Regions from separate parts of the Homo sapiens genome. Here region 1 is linked to region 2. The links are contacts of gene promoters, found by promoter capture Hi-C in human tissues and cell types (Jung and others, 2019). All regions are on one chromosome and are shown on one strand. Each heading gives the region's core, a stretch centred on a gene start or on the middle of the fragment in contact. The rest is flanking DNA. Distances are from core to core; before and after follow the strand shown. Region 1 overlaps RAP1GAP (RAP1 GTPase activating protein). Region 2 holds the start of HSPG2 (heparan sulfate proteoglycan 2).

What was found. Contacts are between HindIII fragments. The study calls those that stand out against the background at their distance.
Region 1: a fragment that was not itself captured here is called in contact with the fragment with the promoter of HSPG2 in region 2 in 1 of the 25 tissues and cell types used here (dorsolateral prefrontal cortex).

The regions. Positions count from the first base shown.
Region 1 is chr1:21,637,319-21,644,392 of GRCh38, reverse strand. The region is part of intron 2 of RAP1GAP (RAP1 GTPase activating protein); the gene reads left to right. Among named protein-coding and RNA genes, the nearest start is that of RAP1GAP, 29 kb to the left of the region's middle. RefSeq lists an enhancer at 3,922-4,751. The HindIII fragment of the contact is 7,278 bases long and covers 1-5,731 here.
Region 2 is chr1:21,935,883-21,942,752 of GRCh38, reverse strand. It overlaps HSPG2 (heparan sulfate proteoglycan 2), which reads left to right and starts at 5,443. Exons shown (of 97, transcript NM_005529.7): 1 at 5,443-5,598. The coding sequence starts at 5,536. RefSeq lists a silencer at 5,055-5,404 and an enhancer at 6,152-6,870. The HindIII fragment of the contact is 19,449 bases long and covers 1-6,870 here.

The DNA.
Region 1 (7,074 bases), core at 843-3,342, 300 kb after region 2:
GATTGGAGCTTAAGTAGCCAGGCTCCAGTTTGCTTGTCACCCTGCGCTGTATGGCTGGAAAATGAAGGAGTCCTGGAAAGCCTTTCTGAAGAGGGGGTGTTTGAACCAAAACCTGAAGGATGAGAGGAGCTGGCCATGGGGGAGCTGGCAGGGTGTCCAGACAGAGGGAGCAGCAGGTGCAAAGGCTCTGAGGCAGGGATGAGCCTAGTGCCAGAGAGACGCCCTGCTTCCAGGAAGGATCCTCTATAGCTTCAGGAGACAAGAGAAAAATCCCCTCCACATGCGTTGTGGCTCTGGGACTGCCACTGTTTGGCTGTGTGATCTTGAGAAATGGGTCCCCATCTCACTTGTGCACAACTCTGCTATCCCACGTCTATCCTCAGCATCATGAAGAGAGGACTCTTGCCGCCCTGAGGTCCCTGGTCTGGTTGGCCCTGTGTGCCCCTATCTCCTGGTGATGCTCAAACTCTGGTCTATTTGTCTGAGATGCATGGGAATATTTGAGTTCTGTTAGGTAGACCTGAGTTCAAATACCCAGTTCAACTTCCACTTACTTGCTGTGTGGCCTTACCCCAACTACTCTGCCTCTCTGAACCCCAGATTGTCCATAACAATGGAAACAGTATTGCTTCGAATGAAATGAGTGCAGAGTGTATGCGCAGGGGGATGTTCTCCCTTCTAACTAAGCATTTGCATTTTGAGAGGAAAGACTCATTCATCCAAAGAGAGATTCTCTAGTGATAGAATTTTAGGCACTGTCGTGGCCACAGGGGGTGAGTAGATGGCTAAGGAGGGGATTTTCTTTTTTTCTTTTTTCTTTTTTTTTTTTTTTTTTTGAGACGGAGTCTTGCTGTCTCGCCCAGGCTGGAGTGCAGTGGCACGATCTTGGCTCACTGCAACCTCCACCTGCCAGGTTCAAGCATTCTCCTGCCTCAGCCTCCTGAGTAGCTGGGATTACAGGCGTGTGCCACCATGCCCAGCTAATTTTTGTATTTTTAGTAGAGATGGGGTTTCACCATGTTGGTCAGGCTGGTCTCGAACTCCTGACCTCATGATCCGCCCGTCTCGGCCTCCCAAGGTGCTAGGATTACAGGCGTGAGCCACCACACCCAGCCTCGGAGGGGATTTTCTGATAGCCCAGATCCTGGAAAGGCCTTCTGAGTTCAGGATCTTCCCCAAAATTCATTCATTCAGCAAACTAATTCAATAAGCATTTAGTGTGGGGACACCCTCCTAGGGCCAAACCCTGTGCTGGGCGTTGGGGACTTGGTGGAGAAAATAGATGAGGCCACTTCTTCTGGGTTCAGAGTCTAGAGAGGGTCATAAGGAAAGAGGTGGTTTGATGGGAATGACATGTGCTGACTAGGGAGATGTGAGGGTTGCTGAGATCTCAGAGAAGGGACTCCTGCCCACATCTGGGAATCAAGGAGGGCTTCCTGGAGGAGGTGACTCAAAAGTTGAAGTGGGCCAAGTGGCAGTGTGTGTGTGTGTGTGTGTGTGTGTGTGTGTGTGTGTGTAGTGGGGAAGGGAGGTGCACTGTGCGAGAATGTTCCAGGGACAGGAGGTGGCAGGTCAGCAATGTGGAGGAGAAAAGTGTGTGGTGGCACATGCTGGATTCAAGACTGAGTTGGGCCTGACAGGTGAAGGGAAGAGAGACAGCCACCAGATCATGTCCCTGTAGGCCCTGCTGGGACTTCTGTGGGCTACGCTGGAAGGCTCTGAACCCCCCAGCCACCATGGGAAGAGGCCTGCTAGGGTGCCAGTCGCCCATCCTCCTCCCTGCTCCAAGGAGCTGCTGTGTGAGACTGAGTCAGCCGCAGCTCAGGGAGGCCCTGACTGTGCTCTTAGTGCAGGGCTGTGGAAGCCCTGGAGCCAGAGTCTGGGCTGGGACCGCAGATGCTGTCTCGGCCACCAGCTGGCTGGGTGACTTCTCTGGATCTCAGTTTCCTCACCTGTAACATGAGGGCAATAAAAGTACTACCTGGAAGATTGGTGGGGGGATTAAATGAGATAATGGGTGCCAAGGCCTGAAACCAGGGCCTGGCACAGAGCACGTACTCCGTCGATGCCAGCTATTGCGGTTACTGCCATCATCGCGGTCATGGTTACCTGCTGCGCCTGCAGTGGGTGCGGAATTGCGCTTGGTGTGTAGACTCTGTCCTCTGGAAGCTTGCTGCCTGCCAGGGGGTGACCTGACTGCCTACACGTGACTGTACACCCCAGCCGTGGGCACTGGCCTTAGGCACTGGCCCTGAGAACACTGGCTTTGGAGTCTGATGGGCCTGGTGCCAGGTCCTGGCCAGTGACCTTGAGGAGTCCGTCACCTTGCTGAGCCTTGGCTCATTCCTTTGTGCAGTGGGGGTGTTCATGGCCCCTGCCTCACGGTGAGTGAGAGGCAGTGAGGAGGTGCTTTTAAAGGGCCGGCCGGTGTAACAATGCAGCTGTTTCTGACCCCATGCTGCAGGAGGGAAGAAACACATGCCTCGGACCCAAGTGACCTAGAGAAACATCACCCTCCCTCTCAGAGGCTCATTTTCATACCTATGAAATGGGAAGGTTGGCTGTGATACACTCTGATGTGCTGGGGTTCTAGTGGAGTTAGCTTGTCCCTAAGTTTGACCTGGTCCAGCTGTTTGCTGTGTGACATTGGGCTAGAGACTTAACCTCTCTGAACCTCAGTTTCCATGCCTGCAAACGGGCAATGTTCACCTCCTGGGATCTTTCAGGGCTTCCATTAGCCACTCGTTAATTCAACAAATACTTACGGAGTTCCTACCACATGCCAGGTACTAGTCTAAGAACTGGGGATGCAGCAGTGAACCTGACAGACACGGTCCTTGCTTCACGCATGTTATCCTCCAGTGCAGGAGACAGACAGCTAAGGTAGCTTCAGATGGGTAATGTGTAGTACGGATGGGGTGGGTGCAAGGCCTGGCTTTGCCAAGGGTATCAGGGAGGGGCCTCTCTGAGGCCTGAATGGGAAGGAGCTGGCTGTGGGAAGAGTAGTCCAGGCAGAGGGTAGAGAAAATGTAAAGGATTGGGGGCAGGAATAGGACTCCTTCCCCCGCCCCAAAGCTGGAACATTCCAGATCATCTCCTGGCAACAGGTGGAGGTGGCTGAGAAGGCAGAGAGGCTGGAAGCCCACTTCTTTCAGATCAGGAACTGCTCCCCAGTCAGGTGTGGTGGCTCATGCCTGTAATCCTAGCACTCTGGGGAGGCCGAGGTGGGTGGATCACCAGAGGTCAGGAGTTTGAGACCAGCCTGGCCAACATGGTGAAACCCTATCTTTACTAAAAATACAAAAAAAAAAAAAAAAATTAGCTGGGCGTAGTGGTGCATGCCTGTGATCCCAGCTACTCAGGAGACTGAGGCAGGAGAATCGCTTGAACCCAGGAGGTGGAGATTACCATGAGCCGAGATCACACCACCGCACTCCAGCCTGGCCAACAGAGCAAGGCTCCATCCCACACACACACAAAAAATAACTGCTGCCCACAAGACAGGCCCGGTGGGGTGGTGGGGAGTGTGGGCAGCCATGGAAGACCAGGCTTGGCTTGAGTCTCAAGTGAGCTGGGCTGTGCAGGCAGGAGGCTGGGCTCCAACCTGTAGGAGCAGGCAGGGGTGGAGCTCACTGCAGGGCAGAGTCAGGCCTCCAGCCTGGAGCCCACCTGACTGGATCTACCTGGCGCAAAGACCCTGGACCTATTTTAGTCGGGGGTAAGGGAACTGCTGCTTGTTCTCCCCTCACCCCAGCCAGCCTAGGCACTGGCCCCAGGTTGCCTTGGCCTTTCCCAGCCCAGCTGCCTGCAGGCTGAGGAAAGGTTCTTTGAGATGACCCATTACATGTACACACACACATATTTCCCTACTCACACTCATAGACTTGACCCTTGTAGAGACAGCTTCATCATGAACATAGAGGCACAGACATACACATTCATTCATGCAGCAGATCAGACCCAAACAGACCCAGGCATGACCTGAAGAAACCCCATTTCTAGCAGGAGAGACTGACAGTGGCTTAATGGTCACACCATGAAATGTGCAAACGCAACAGGTAAATCCATGAAGGCCCAAGACAGGCTTCTGGGAAAGCTGGTCAGGTTCGGAGCAGCTTCTCCTGGTCTGGGGAGGGGGCTCTGGAAGACTGAATACAGACATAGCACCTGAAATGTGATCCAAGCGGACGGGAAGGGGGTAACAGGCAGGGGGCACAGCGTGTGCAGTGGCCTGGAGGTGGGAAGGAGCACCTCGGGTTTGAGGAGCGGAAAGGAGTCTGGAGAAGGAGGAAAGAAGCCCTGGATGAGGCCAGAGACAGTGGGCGGGTGGGAGGGGGGCCGGGGATGGGGAGCAGACACGCAGGGCCTCGTGGGCCACGTGAGGCGGGCGTCTGGATCCTGCTTGCGGCGGGAAGCCATTGGGGCCTTCTAGGCAGGTGGGTGGTGTGATCAGATCCAAACATGCGACACAAGCGCTTTCCCTCCCACACCCATTCACGCTCCTGCCGGGGCCTCCCATCTCCATTCTCACCCACAGAGTCACACACACCCTCTCGCACCACCAGGCAGAGCTGCGGAACACCCGGTGCCGACTCCCAGGAAAAGTGTCAGACGCTGCCCCGCCCACCGGCTGAGTCTGTGCGGCAGGGCCCTGGGGTCCAGCCAGGGTGGATCCTTGCTCACTCCACATCCGCACAGATGTGCCTGTGCCCCCCGCCTGCCCCCACAGGAGTGAGGTCATAACTCTTCTCTACACGTGCAAGGTGGCTTCTAGCTTAGGACGTACTTTCACGTGCATTCTCTCATTTAATGCTCTCAGCAGCCCTGCAGGGAGAAATTCTCAACACCATTTTATAGCCGAGGAAACAGAGGCTGAGAGAGGTGAAGGGACTCTCCCTAGGCCACACAGCTAGAGCTTGGCACAGGCAGGATTTGAACTCAGTTCCGTTTGACTTTCAGGTCTTGTTCTCTGGCCCATCCAGACTCAGACACACTCAGGTGTGACTGTCACCTTTCCAGGCTGTCACTGAGAAGGTGACAAGTGACCTTCAATGCCAAATCCATCCACAAACAGGTTGATCAACACAGAAAGTTATTTAGAGCTCCAGGGAAGGGCCTGGGCTGGGACGTGCCCACCTGCCTGGTGACCCTGAGGCTTCTGGGGGTAGTGCCAGGGGTGGGGCTGGGCACCTGCCAGCCTGGGGCAGCTCAGGGCATGGAGCCCGCGCTAGGAGCAGAGCCTACATTTGCATTTACAAATGAAGTAGACAGCCCTGTCCCCACACATGCTAACCCGGCTGGCCTGGCTTGCAGGACGTGACAGCTGAAGTCACAGGGCACATCCCTGGGCCCAGCTGCCTGGGCCACTTCTGTGCTGCCTCTGCTCTTCCCTGACCCTCGGAGCAGGTTGTCTAATGCCTAATGTAGGGGAAAGAGTGTGGGCTTGGGAGCCAGCCAGAATGGGGGTGCAACCCAGCTCTGTGACGCCTGGCTCAGGGACATTGGTCATGGTGTTTAGTCTCTTTTCGTGTCAGCTTCTCCCCCTTGGAATAAGGGGTGAGTCATACCTCCCTCTCAAGGTGATGGAAAAGGGTAAAGCAGTCAGGTGCTCAGGGAGCTGAGTCATAGTGAGTGCTCAGCTCTCTAAAATCTTTAATTTTTTTCTGATTACACAAATACTAAGTGTTCATTATAAACATCCAAACCGTGCAGAAAAGTATTTGCCACAGAAAGCAGAAGTTCCTAGTGGTCCTGCTTCTCAGAGATAAGCCATGTAAACTTTCTTTTTGTTTTTGTTTTTGTTTAAAGAGAAAGAGGACGGACAGACAGACACAGCCCAACTGGGCTTCATCCCACTCAAAATTCTGAGGGCTTTTGGGCCTCAGGGTCCCATACGCAGCAAGCCCCTTTTCTCTCTCTCTTTTTTTTTTTTTTTTGAGACAGAGTCTTGCTCTGTCGCCCAGGCTGGAGTGCAGTGGTGCAATCTTGGTTCACTGCAACCTCTGCCTCCTGGGTTCAAGCGATTCTCCTGCCTCAGCCTCTTGAGTAGCTGGGATTACAAGCATGCGCTACCATGTCCGGCTGATTTTGTATTTTTAATAGAGATGGGGTTTCACCATGTTGGTCAGGCTGGTCTGAAACTCCTGACCTCAAGTGATCCACCTGACTTGGCCTCCCAAAGTGCTGAGATTATAGGTGTGAGCCACCATGCCCGGCCTTTTTTTCTTTTCTTTTTTTTTTTTTTAATAGGATCTTGCTCTGTTACTCAGGCTGAAGTACAGTGGTGCAATGTTGGCCCACTGAAGCCTCAACCTCTCAGGCTCAATCAGTCTTCCCACCTCAGCCTCCTGAGTAGCTGGGACTACAGGCATGCACCACCATACCCGGCTAATTTTTGTGGTTTTTTTTTTTTTTTTTTTTGGTAGAGATGGGGTTTTGCTATGTTGCCCAGGATGGTCTTGAACTCCTGGCTCCAAGAGATCCGCCTGCCTTGGCCTCCCAAAGTGCTAGGATTACAGGCGTGAACCACCACTCCCGGCCAGCCATGTAAACTTTGACATGTAATTTTAAATTTTTACAAATGAGATTTTTGTTGTGTGCAGCCCGCTTTATTCACTTAACAATATGCCTCAAACCCCCTTTTCCATCAAGACTAAAGACCTTCTTTGTCATTGCTGTATAGTATTCCATGGTTTGATATATTTAACTAATCTCCTTGTAATGGACATTGAAGTGGCGTCCAGATGTTTGCGGTTGCAAACCCTGCTTCATGACTTTTTTGTTCATATATCTTTATGCATTGGTGTTATATTTCTGGAGAATAAATGCCTAGAAATGGGGTTGCTGGACCAAAGAATATGCACATTTTAACATCCATTGCCTCTGCCCTCAGTTACAGGGATCCTAGAGTCATCAAGAGGCAAAGAATTCCAGATGTGGGGCTGGATGCAGTGGCTCACTCCTGTAATCCCAGCACTTTGGGAGGCTGAGGCAGGTGGATCACTTGGATCCAGGAGTTCAGACCAGCTTGGGCAACATGGTGAAACCCTGTCTCTACAAAAAAAAAAAATTAGC
Region 2 (6,870 bases), core at 4,194-6,693:
GGGAAAGGAGCATTTATGGAGCTCTAACCACGAGCCTGGCAGAGAAGTCTTCTATAGCTGAAGTAGGGGCTAGTAGGCAGGAATGTGAGAGTGTGTACGGAGCCGTAAGAATTCCAGCCTGGCTGGAGGGGAGGGGTGGGAGTGGAGAGCCATGAGTGCAAATTCAAATTATAAAGACCATCTATGGTCAGCTCAGGAGCCAGGCTCTGGGGCAGCATTCGCAAAGTGTTATGAGAAACCTCAGCCCTATAAGATTTTAAAAGGATTTTCCATAAAAACCACTGGGTTCCGTTCTCAAAGAGGTTGAGGAAGGCTGGATTAAACACAGTTGCACAGGCGACTTCACTGGAGGCCTATTCAAAACCCTTCCTGCTTTGGTGTCCCTTGAGGTGGTCAAAGTGTGGGAAAGAGTGCAGGGTACCCAAACTTCTTTGGCCAAAGAACCTCTTTTTCAAAGAGCATCTCAGATTGCAGGTGACCCATGAGGCACAGTGTGGGAACCCTGCCTTGGGCCTGGGACCCCAGTCCAAGAAAGCAATTGATAATGATGAAGGGTAGTGGGGAAACATCAAGTTGGGGCAGGGGGTCAAATACAAGAGCTTTCAGAAGATTCACGCTTCTGCCTGAGCTGGGAGAAGCGCACTTGTGCCTGGCCAGAGTTGAGAACAGCCCACAGGGAGGCAGAATGGGTGTGGTTGAGAATGGGAGTTTGTAGAATCAGACCGACATGGACATGAATCCTGGTTCTACCTCTTACTGACTGCATGACCTGGGCAAGCCACTTCATCCCCTGGGCCTCAGTTTTCCCAGCTGGAAAGGGAGGGGAATAATAAAATGTACTGCCTTGCCTGCTCCCCAGGGTTTATCTTTGTTCCAAGCACAAACCAGAACAGGGACATTTACACTGTGTGCCACGTTTGAACTAATGTCTTGTTCTTTCATTTAAGTAACAATTATCCAAATGCCAACTCTGTGCCACACACTGTGCTCTTCACAGGGGATATAATTGGGACCAAGACAGAAACAAGACCTTCATGCCCTCTGCCTTCATTATGCCTCATAATATTAAATGATCTTCCAAATAATTACAATGGTCAAAAATGCTACAAGAAAAGCATGGCGGGGGGGGCGCTGTGGGAAAGTGTGGTGGGGAACACGACCTCGCTTGGGAGGTCAGAGAAGATTTCTGTGGTCATGTGATGTTTGGACTCAATCTTAAGGGAGAGTAGAGTGAAGGGGGATGGGTGTTAACTGGGAAAAGCACTTAGGAGAGGGAACAGCATCTGCAAAGACTATGGTGGGGAAGGGCTGTGGCTGGATTGATGGGCAGGACTAGATCATGCCAGGCCTTGTGGGGTCCCCGCCCTCTCCATGGGAACTTTTGCTGCCTGCTTAGACCCACCTCCTGCCTCCTCTTCCTCCTCTTCTTCAGTACTATCTTCTTGTTTTTTCTCCTCCATCTCAATTCTCTTTCACACCAATTTCTGACTCTTCATTTTCACCCAAGGACATATTGTTACTCTATTAGCATTTGTTTTCCCACATGGACATAGAAACTCTCGTGGGCAGTGTTTAGTTTCACTATTGAATGAATATAGGGCCACAGCTAGCCTTACAGTGCCTTCACTCATATCAGCAAAAAGTACCCATTCTGGGCCGGGTGCAGTGGCTCACGCCTGTAATCCCAGCACTTTGGGAGGCCGAGACGGGTGGATCACTTGAGGTCAGGAGTTCGAGACCAGCCTGGCCAACATGATGAAACCCTGTCTCTACTAAAAATACAAAAAATTAGCCAGGTGTGGTGGCATGTGCCTGTAATCCCAGCTACTTGGGAGGCTGAGGCAGGAGAATCGCTTGAACCCAGGAGGCAGAGGTTGCAGTGAGTTGAGATCGTGCCACTGCACTCCAACCTGGGCAACAGAGCAAGATTCTGTCTCAAAAAGAAAAAAAAAAGTACCCATTCTGGGCAGATGTAGCCCCACAACAGGGCCCATTACAGTTCCTATTTACCCACTTGGCTGCACACCTTTGTTCAGTGAACAACCTGCGCAACTGTCCACTGCAGCCCTGAATGAATGAATGAATGGACAAAGGAATGTGATTAAGATGAATGATAAGCTCTCAGGCAGAGAAAAGATTTGGAATGGGAGTGGAAGCCAGAAGATGAGTCCTACTGAATTTGGAGGAGTGGACAGGTAAGCCACAAACTCCAGCTGCTGGTTCCAGAACCCCCAACACCTATTCTCAGAAGTCAAGCTGTTTGACTATTTCTGCCTATCCAAGCTGTTGTAGTCTCTCCGTGCCCAGGGAACCTTGTATGAGACTTGAGTTGTTTCTCTCCTCGAGTGTGACCAGCACCCTGAACTCTGTGTACATACAGTGAGATTATGGGCGCCTCCAAGGTTTTGCCAAGCCCAGAAGGCCTTGTGCCTGCTCCTCTTCTTAGCCATATGAGGAGATAGCCAGGCTCTAGACAAAGCAACTTGAGAGCATTTGCTAAAGATATCAAGGACTGCAAACTAAAACAGACCCAGGCAAATCCCTTAGTGGGAAGGAGAGGACACAGAATAAATAGGTGGATGACCAATCCTCCGCTGCTGGAGCCGCCCTGGAAGACTTTCTCAACATGCCATATATTCCTGCTTTCTGCGTGTCAGCCCAGCTCCTTCCAGTCCCTAGTCGGCCTTACCATCTCTTTCCTCAACCCCTTTGAGGAAGGAAGACTTATAGCTCTGGGTTAGTCTTGACCAAACATCTACAAAGGGTTGCTTGTTTCCCTTTTTTTCCCCCTTTGCTCATGAGCAAATCATCCAAGAAGCCAAAGCTCTGGTACTTAAAGGGCCCGAGGTAGGGAACAGACACTGAGGCAGCTCATGAAATGCGATTTGTCACGGATGCTGACAAATCCATGGACAGGCAAGGCCTTGGAAAAATCCTGCCACTAGGGCTGGCCACCTGCCAGCTCTGAAGTCAGTGGAGTTTTGAAGCCTTTCTCATCGGACAGGGAGTTTCCAAGTGCAAACCTGGTGTACTCTCCCCTCAAATGGGAGGTCCCTGGGGTGGCTGTGGAGGCTGCTCCTCTATCAGACCTCAGCTCCCCAAGGGCCAAGTCATGTCTCTCTCTTTAGATTGGGAGCACACCAGAAATAGTAATAAGAGAAATGGCTACCACTTATTTCATGCTTACCAAGTGTCTGAAATGGCTGTGTTTTTTAAAAGAAATATATTAATTTATCTTAATTCTCATAACAACACTAAGAGAGACGTCTTAACGTTATTCTCATTTTCTACATGCAGAGACTGAGACATGGAAGTTGAATCATGTGCTCAAGATTGCACGGCTAGGTGGTGGAGGCAGGATTCTCTATCAGACTGAGAACAATACCCGGACAGGGACTATTCTTCCCCACACCTCTATCAGATTAAGAGTTTACTGAGGGCCAAGATTGGGCGTCCCTCCTCTGTCCACCCCTATCTCCCTGTGCGGATCAGAGATAGACCTTATTCAGTGCTGTGCCTGGAGCCTGGGTTGGGGCCAGGCAGTTGGCCTGACTACCGTGGATGCAATTTCTGTTCTTTACAACTCTGAGCTGGTCCCACAGAAATATGCCCCACAGGGCATATTTTGGAGATATCTTTTGGAGATAGGGGATCTATCTGGGATGGGGGTCAGGATGCCAGTGTTTTTTCAATCCCCCAGATGCCTGGATGAGAGGCCCCAATGTGCTTGGGAGCCTGCGGACCCCTATCACAGGGAACATAGCTTCCGGAGCCAGGCCTGGTGCCGCCCAGTGAGCTGGGCATTTCCTTCTGTCCACAGCTCACCTCACTCCTGGCTGCAAACCCAGCCATGAGTTTCTGGAACCTAGCAACTCTCACAGGAAACAATGGAAACTTCAGTTTTATTCTCCTCCTCTATCATTACTCAAAAGGTTTTCCTCAAAGCTACACACACATAGTTTTCCTCTCCACCCATCAGCCTCGGGCTGCCCTGGAAATTTCAGGCAGAAGAGGGGAGCTGAAGAGTAGGCAGTGAATAGGTCTGGGGGCTTGGTGCTGTTTGCTGCCTGCGGTTGGGTCAGAGACAGATCATGGGGCTGTGATTTTACCACCCACCCGAGCATCTGTGATGGGGCTTTGGCAGGGTCTGTCTGTCTGGGCCTGAGTGTGTGAGTTGGTGTGGTTCTGGCTCTGGGGCTGTGATTTATGTGACTCAAAGTTGGTGTGTGAGTGATTTACATGGAAAATGGTGCAGGTGGGGTGGGCAGCTCAGTTCAGTACCCAGTGCCCACTATGAGGCACTGTGATTAGTGGGTGAGAACAGGTAAAAGATACAGGCTGAGGCTGGGTGCGGTGGCTCAATGCCTGTAATCCCATCACTTTGGGAGGGCAAGGCGGGCAGATCACAAGGTCAGGAGTTCGAGACCAGCCTGGCCAACATGGTAAAAACCCCATCTCTATTAAAAATACAAAAATTAGCCAGGCGTGGTGGCACGCCTGTAATCCCAGCTATTCAGGAGGCTGAGGCCGGAGAATTGCTTGAACCCGGAGGCGGAGGTTGCAGTGAGCCAAGATCCCACCACCGCACTCCAGCCTGGGGACAGAGCGAGACTCCTTCTCAAAAAAAAAAAAAAAAAAAAAAACAAGCTGGTAAGCATGTAGGCAATGATGTGGGCCTGTGTGTGAAATGTGCGTGCCTGCGAGGAATCTATGTGAAAAGGCGTCCTCCCGCTCCGTGACTTGTTGGGATGTATGCGTGAGTGAGGGGCTGAGTGTGGTGTGAGGGCTGTCTCCTGTGTCCCTGGTGGAGGTGAGAGTTTGGAAGCGAGTTAAGTGTGCATGTGAGCCGGTGAGGATTGTTGGTACTTCAGAGTTGGGTCCAGAGTGTGAAAGTGTTCCCGGGTAGCGCACAAGTGTGTTCGTGCAGTAAAGTTATGGTGTGAAGGTGTTCTTGGGTGTGGAAGTTGGCGTGCACGTGTGGCGCGGAGCGGCAGCTGCGTGCGTGTGAGCGTGGGAAGGAGATCCCGGGATCTTCAAAAGCTGCGCGAGTGGAGTCGGCCGTGCGGGGCGTGCAGGGGCGTGGAAGTCGGCGGCGCGCGCGGGGAAGCGGGGGAGCCGGGGATCGGGGAGGCGAGAGCGCCTGGCCCGGCGGCCCCATCCCATGCCCGGGCCCGGGCCCCCGGTCCCCCGCCCCGTCCCATCCCATACTCCAGGCCGGGTTTGGCGGGGAGCCGGGCCGGGCCGCGGCCCGCGCGGAGGGGGCTGGGGGCCCAGACAAAGGCCTAGTAGGCTGCGCGGCCGGCTGGGGCGAGCAGAGCCCGCGGCCCGGGGGCGGTCCGTGGGCGGGGCCTGGCGCTCCGGGGAGGGGCGGTTCGGGGGCGGGGCCGGCGCTGCGGGGGCGGGGCGGGCGGGGAGGAAAGGGGGCGGTGGGGAGAGGGCCGCGCTGTCCCGAGCTGGCCGGCGAGCGGGCGGCTGCGGGCGGCGCGGAGCGGGCGGCGCGGAGCGAGCGAGCGAGAGAGCGGCGCGGGCCGGGCCATGGGGTGGCGGGCGGCGGGCGCGCTGCTGCTGGCGCTGCTGCTGCACGGGCGGCTGCTGGCGGTGAGTGTGCGGGGCAGAGGGGCGGGGGGCGGGGGCGGAGGGGCTAGGGGCGCCCCGGTCCCGCTCGCCGCCTCCCGCCAACTTGGCTGGGGCGCCCAAGGCTGCGCGGCGGGGACTCTGGCCCGGGACGGCGGCGCCCGCCGGGGACCCCGGGCCGGCGCCACCCTGCGGCATGGGGCTAATCCAGGGGGGCCACCAGTCAGGACCCTTCGTGGGGCTGGGGGCGGGGCTGGCCCGTGTGGGAGCCCGTGGGTCTCTCGGCCACGTTGCCGAGTGCTGGAGTCTCGCTGGGCATGGTCCGGCCTACCATTCCTGGGGACCAGGAGGGGAAACTTTGAGCAGGGTGGGAACTTGGCAGGACGAGGGAACCCTTCTGCGCCAGCTTGGCAGAACGGCCACTCAGTGGTGATGGGGACCCTATGAGTCTCGCTGAAACTTTACCACACCGTCTATCACCTTGGGGAGCTTGGACCCAGGTAGGCACAAGCAAAACTTTTGGGACAGAACTGAAGCTTGTGTGGAACACCCACGGGCCTTGGAGTCATACAGCCGAAGAGTTGAATCAATCCCTGCCTTTCACTGAGTAACTGTGTGACCTGGGGCACGCTAGTTAACCTCTCTGAGGCCAGCCCCACGTGGGTCAAGGGAACTCAAAATGCACGGCCTCAAAATGCATAGCTGCAGGGCGTTGCTGGACTGCGTGGAATGAGCTGCAAAGTGCGTGGTGCGGGGATGCAGTGCACCCTTGGGGGACCCGAGTTCCCCAGCTTTCCTCTTCCCAGGTCTCCAAGAGGCAGGGAGAGGCCTGCCCTTGCAGTCTAGTCCCCTACTCTGAGCTTAGGTGGAGGAAAAGGGAATTCTACGGTCAGGAATCCCGAGGCTTAGAAGGCACTTGGCCAGCAGAGGCCCTGAGGACCTGAGTGAACTTGAGGAGGACTGGGTGGGGTCGGTGGGCAGGGAGCTAGTGGCAGATGTGGGTGGGGGCACATCTGGGGAGCCGAGCCTACCGTGGGGAGCCACAGAGCCACCCCCACTCTCTCCGAGGTGCTCCTAGGCAGTCCCCATACCTGCCTCCCTGTTCTCTGAGCCAAGAGAGGGACTTTTCTAACCAGGCTGGTGTTTACCCAGGAACTGCCTGCCTGGCCTCACCTTCCTGGCTTCATCGCACCTCTACCCTCCTGAGTCACTCGTCAAGCCCCCACCCAGACCTGGCTCCTCACTGCTCTTGCCCCACCCACCCAGCACTTCTCCTCCCCCATCCCCACTCTGGGC